Linked DNA regions of Homo sapiens: region 1 is linked to region 2. The links are contacts of gene promoters, found by promoter capture Hi-C in human tissues and cell types (Jung and others, 2019). All regions are on one chromosome and are shown on one strand. The core of a region is centred on a gene start or on the middle of the fragment in contact, and the rest is flanking DNA. Distances in the headings are between cores, read along the strand shown.

Region 1 (3,193 bases), core at 234-2,733, 150 kb before region 2:
GATGTCTGGTCAAGAGCTGACTTCTGGTCCCCTGGAACTATCAGTGTAGTGTTGTGATTGTCAGGATGCAGGCTCTGGAGTCAGAGAGAGCTGGGTTCAGATCCTGACTCTTGTCATTTATTATAGTGTGACTGTGTGCAAGTTACAAAACCTTTCTGTGGATGTGTTTCCTCATCTGTACAATGAGAATTATAATAGTATCTTCTATTACATAATATAATACATACTATAAACACTCGGTTACTGTTAGCTGACTGGGTTTGTCTTTTTTTTTTTTTAACGGACCTCTATCACTGCCTCCTAGCATATTCGATATTTATTGAATGAATGTTGTAAGCCCATTCTTTAATATTTTACCTACGTTTCCATTTCCTGAGATGACTAACATGTTCCTTATTTTCCAAACCTCCACTATGCATGAACACTACAAGCAATTGTCCTTGAAATACTATGAAATATACTTGGTCAAGCAGAACTTACTTACCTAAAATAGAATAAATTATTTTCCATAGTACTTTTACCTTAGGAAGTTATTAAACTATATCACAACTATAAACTCTATGTAATATGTTGGCATTTTTTCCATTGTATTTGAAAGGGCATTAGACTAAAAATCATGTCTCTACTGATTGAGTGACCTTAGTTGAATAATTCAAGTAAGTCTTTCAGCCATTCTCTTCATCTATAAAATGAGGTGTTGGATGACAAGATTATGCTAGATGATATCTGAATTTCCTTCTAACCCTATAATTCTGTGTTTCTATGAATTAGTATTAATGATATATATTTATTTAGGGGAGGAATCTGAAATTCTCAGAAGACATAGCTTCTTTGATGACAACATATTACTGAATTCCAGTGGTCCTTTAATTGAACATAGTTCTGGAAGCCTCACTGGAGAACGATCTCTATTCTATGACAGTGGAGATGGGTTTGGAGATGAAGGAGCTGCAGGAGAAATGATTGGTATGCTATCTGGTCATGTGGAAATAAAATATTTATTTTCATCAAATTACTACAATATATTAGTAGATTTATTATATCAATCTAAAATTTCAAATATGTTTTTGTGTTATGTAGGTCAATACTTTTTTTTATACAAGTTTTCAAAGTCTGTGGCATGTTTAAACATTTAGGCTAGGCCTAAGTAAATAGCCGTCTGTTTAAATATATTTTCTATAGAGGTTATGAACTACTGCTTGTTTTTATTTTTACAAATTCCTAATTTTTGGAGGGGAGAGAGTGAGGTTAGTATATTCCTTATAAAATATACTAGGCTATGTACTGGAAAACATTGTTTTCTTTAACATACATTGTGGGGCAGCTAAGTTATTTTCCAGAATTTTATATTATTATTTTATATTTATATTCCCCTGCTTAAGGCCTTGGGTCCCCATGACTTACTGTATCAAATACCTCTACCTATCCTCAAGGCCTTCTACCAATTTATTGCCTTCTTTATTTTATCAGTTTTATTTGTTTTACTCTTAACATAGACTATTTCACATTATAAAATAGTCATAGAAATCGGGTAGAGAAAAACTAAGAAGTCCAAATGCACATGTTTTATTTATTATTATTATTATTATTTTTGAGACGGAGCCTTGCTGTGTCGCCCAGGCTGGAGTGCAATGGCACCATCTTGGCTCAATGCAACCTCTGCCACCTGGGTTCAAGTGATTCTTCTGCCTCAGCCTCCTGAATAGCTGGGATTACAGGTGCCCACCACAATGTCCAGCTAATTTTTTTTCTAGTTTTAGTAGAGATGGGGTTTCACCATGTTGGTCAGGCTGATCTCAAACTCCTGACCTCAGGTGATCCACCCGCCTCAGCTTCCCAATGTGCTGGGATTATAGGAGTGAGCCACTGCGCCCAGCCAAAATGCACGTTTTAAAGATTATTTATTGGCTGTTCCTATCAAATCTTTTTTAAAATTCTCTAGTTCACATTAAAGATCTGGTTATTCCTTTACAATGAAATGCATAAAGTAACATTAATAAATGTTTAGTGAACAAATGACAGATTCCAGTCTGTATGAAAAAATATTCATTGTGTTTTTCAAGACAATCTATTGCAAGATGATCAGAATATCCTGTTAGAAGACATGCATTTGAACAGAGAAATTTCCCTGCCTTCTGAGCCTCCCAATAGTTTAGCAGGTAGGTTGAAATTTTCCTTTATGAGAAAGTAATGGGTTACTAATGTTTAAGCCTCAGAACTTCTGAATTTAAGTAGCAATATAGTATAGTGAAAGATAAAGAACAATGTCTTTCAGACTCTGTTAGTCTGACTGTAGACAATATAAAATAGGAAATTGGATTCTGATAAAGGTACACTGAAGGGTATTTAGCCAGGATTGGGCTTAGCATGAGAGAACTCTGCCAATATATTGTGCTTTTTGAATTATTAAAATAGTATATGGTAAATGGTAAGAAAATTTATTAACTAGTATGGTTTGATAATCTACATACAATTTGAGAGAAATTACAAATTGAGGATATTTTCCCTATTTGAAATTCATACGGAAGTACCTCAGATGATTTGAGGTATTTTAGTCTGATTTTTCTTAAGAATTAAAAGTACAATTAGCCCCATTTTTTATTTGCCACAATTTTTGATGTTATATTTGCTTTCTAAAAACAACAGTAGAAACTGAAAATACAAAGAGCTAAAAGTAATAAAATTTTACTTATGGTTTTTTATGGATCAACTGATAAGTGATTTAACAGAATAGAATTTTTTTTTAGCAGACATATAGTCAAATTGTTATCAGTCATTTACTGTAGTTGCTGCCACTGTTTTCACATCTGCTGTGACTTTAGCCCACCCTTAGATGTCTCATGTGCAAAAGGGGATGATGATACTTGACTCACTCGAATACTGTGGGTCCCACACCATATAATCTGTAAGCCTCTTCAGCTCTATTAAATAAATGGTTCTAAGAATTCAGATGTTCCAGTTAGTAATATAAATCTTCAGTTAGTTTATCTTTATCTTTAATTCTCATACAGTCCTCTAGCCTGCATCCTAACTGGTTTTTTTTACAATTACTTTTATGTGGATGTTGATTAGTTGAACCAGATAACTCAGAGTGTATATGTGTACCTGAAAATGAAAAAATGAATGAAACAATATTATTATCAACTGAAGAGGAAGGATTTACCCTTGATCCAATTGATATTTCAGGTCAGAG
Region 2 (2,869 bases), core at 246-2,745:
GGGCCACAGAAATAAAAGGGCATGGGAGGGGGGATGTTAGTTGCCTTTTCCTCTTTCCAGTGAAAGTCATTTCCCTCAATAGAGGGATCCCTCCATGTTTCCATGATTTGGAAGAGAAAGGTGGAGCTTATTCGTGAGCAACTTGGCCAGAACTGCCCACAGCCTACTACCCAGGAGGAGGAAGAGGAGGAGAGGGAGTGGGAAAAAAAGAGGGAGGAGGAGGGGGAACAGAGGAAAGGGTGGGAAGGTTGAGAAAGGGGAAGGAGGAGGGGGAGGGAAGGTTATTCGTATCAACAACTGTGGCTACACCAATCACTGCCACCCTTGTGGGACCCACAGCCACTGAGTCTCCGCCAACTCAGCTCTCCCCCTCCCCCGCCCCCATACAAACCAGGACAAGCTTGTAAGGAGAAGGAGTAAGACAGCCCCAAGGCACACGACTCTGATGTCTGAATTCTGGCTGGGGAGGGGGAGGTGTCTAAAATTTCCTTTGGCTTGTATTATCACTATGTATTAGCCTCCAGATGCTTATCTTTAAAATGAGGACGAGAAAAGTCTCTACTTCTAGAAGAGCTGGGGGACTAAATTACACGTGCAGCTTTCGGTCAGCCTGAGCCAGCGCTGTCACTGAGCCTTGGATTTGTAAGTGGCTCAAAAGTAAAAAGACGGAAGAAGGCCGTGCAGCTCTACTTCCCCCAAGGCCAGGAAGGGCCAAAGCAATGACTTAGGAAGTGGGATGTTTCCCCACCCTAGGCAAAGGGGCGAATTCCGAGTTCCCCGGAGGAAGCAGCAGCTCTGCAGACTCGGAATTACCTCGTCCTCATCTCCAGTGAAGGGAGGGATGGAAGTGGGGGCAGGGGCACAGAAATGGTACAAATCCTTCCTAATGGTCCCTGGCCAGAGCTCTGCCCATTCCTGAAAGTGTGACCTTGGGAAAGTGAGACCTTGGGAAAGTGACTTCGCCTCGCCAAGCCTCAGTTTCCTCATCTGTGCAGCGGGCATAAGGGCAGCATCTAAGGTGCAGAAATGCTTCTGACGGGTCAGATAACACCTAGCCCGCAGCCGACGCTCACAGCCGCCGATTCAGACCCGCCCGGGTTCCGCAAGCCCCAGGCTGCCCCTGAGCCACCGCCCAGGCCTCAGCCTCGGGCCATGCGGACCTCGCCGCCGCCACGCCCCGGACCCCAGGCCCCGGGCCCCCAGGCCTCGACGGCCAGCCGCACCCGGGCTGCGGACTGCGGCCCGGGCCCCCTCCCCGCTGGGCCCCCGACTCACCGGTGTAGTGCACCACGCAGGTCTGGCCGCGCTTGGGGAAGGTGCGCCCTGAGGAGACAGAGACGGGCATGCTGAGCCGATGCGCGCGGCGGCAGAGGTACTCCGAGCCGCCGCGCGCCACTACTCACCGTCTCCTGGGGAGATGGTTTCCACCTGCACTCCCATGGCGGCGGCGGACGCTGAGCGGGCGGGCGGCGCGACGGGCGGCGTGGACCAACAGCGACCTGGCGGCGGTTCCACGGCTCTGCCTAGTACCTCGGCGCGTCGCCTGCGCACGCGCACGCCCCCTCACGCCCAGCCCTGCGTGCGCGCCCCACACGGCGCGCGACGTCCCGGAAACCCAGGCCTCCGGAAGAGGGACCGGAAGCCCAGAAGCCCCGAGACCTCCGGAAGCCCGGAGGCCTCCGGATACAGCTGTGTTTGCCGGGTGACTTGCTTCGTTCTCCTGCCCTTCCTCTGTGCTTCCAGCCGGTTAAGCATCTCCCTGCCCAAAGAATGGGAGTAATAATAGGGGGTCCGCCAGTCACTGACTGGGTGACTGTCATCAGGTTTCCACTTAGAAGCACACAGTTACTCATCCTGGGAAGAGCATGGTTCTGAGAAGACAGCGCACAGGTGGTGGTAGTATGTTAGTATTTTATAAGTGGCTCAAGGTTGTAAGTTCTGCTTTTCTTCACTGGAGGAGGAGTTGTCCAAATTCATTCACTCACCCATAGCTTACATGCATACATTCTTATTGAGCATGTGAAAGTTGATAATACGAATTGGGTCACTCTTCTTATGCCCAACGGAATCAGAATCCAGGGGCCAGGGGAAAAGCACTGGAGGCACGCAGCGCCTGCTCCAAGAACCAATATTTCCACTAACTGCTGCGGAAATGGCCTGCTGTCCCCCTGAGACCAGATTCAGCTAGTAACTGCTGAAACAACCCGCCATAACCTAATACTAGTTTTACTTACCACTGTCAGTCACCAATCAGAGCTTGCCAGCTCCCTGAAACTTTACTAGTGCCAATGCATTTCCCTTTCTAATAAAACGCCCAGCCTTCTCTTTGTTTTTCGGACATACCAAAGACCACCAGATCTGTGTGTATGCTCCGAGTTGCGATTCTCGCTTCCCCAAATAAAACATTACATTTAGAGATTCATCTCCATATTTTATTTTGACTTTGACAAGCACCTTCTGTATGTCATGTACTGTGCTAGGTGCTGAGGATACAGCGGTGAAGGAGTCAGACTTAGTCCCTGACCTCACAGAATCTACGTATGATGTGGGAGAGATAATCAAATAACCTGTTTAAGTAAAAAAAGATACGGAATAAATGTAAAGTTTCAAATCTGTAATATTATGAGACAGTAATACATGCTGTGAGGGGCGTGTTAATATAACAGAGATGCCTCACTTAGTCTGGAATGTGGTCAGATATTTCCCTGAGTTAGCCAGGTTTAGCCAGGTTTAGCCAAGGTTAGAAGGCCAATTGTGTGTATGTGTTGGGGTAAGGGGAGGCAGAAGGAGCAGTACCTGCAGAGGCACTGTAACGCAAGAGAACACTGTGACATGGTCTAGGACATAAGGAGGCACATGTGACTAATCT

Evidence for each region. Contacts are between HindIII fragments. The study calls those that stand out against the background at their distance.
Region 1: a contact is called between a fragment that was not itself captured here and the fragment with the promoter of FKBP1A in region 2, in 1 of the 25 tissues and cell types used here (H1 embryonic stem cells).

The regions. Positions count from the first base shown.
Region 1 is chr20:1,237,249-1,240,441 of GRCh38, forward strand. RAD21L1 (RAD21 cohesin complex component like 1) reads left to right here. Exons shown (of 14, transcript NM_001384355.1): 6 at 796-966; 7 at 2,064-2,159; 8 at 3,073-3,186. Among named protein-coding and RNA genes, the nearest start is that of RAD21L1, 13 kb to the left of the region's middle. The HindIII fragment of the contact is 5,639 bases long and covers 1-3,193 here.
Region 2 is chr20:1,391,559-1,394,427 of GRCh38, forward strand. FKBP1A (FKBP prolyl isomerase 1A) reads right to left here and starts at 1,496. Exons shown (of 5, transcript NM_000801.5): 1 at 1,404-1,496; 2 at 1,276-1,323. The coding sequence starts at 1,440. FKBP1A-SDCBP2 (FKBP1A-SDCBP2 readthrough (NMD candidate)) reads right to left here and starts at 1,614. Exons shown (of 10, transcript NR_037661.1): 1 at 1,404-1,614; 2 at 1,276-1,323. It overlaps MIR6869 (microRNA 6869), which reads right to left and starts at 1,403; the gene lies at 1,342-1,403. RefSeq lists enhancers at 1-96, 888-1,388 and silencers at 1,123-1,192, 1,203-1,302, 1,503-1,552. The HindIII fragment of the contact is 6,579 bases long and covers 1-2,869 here.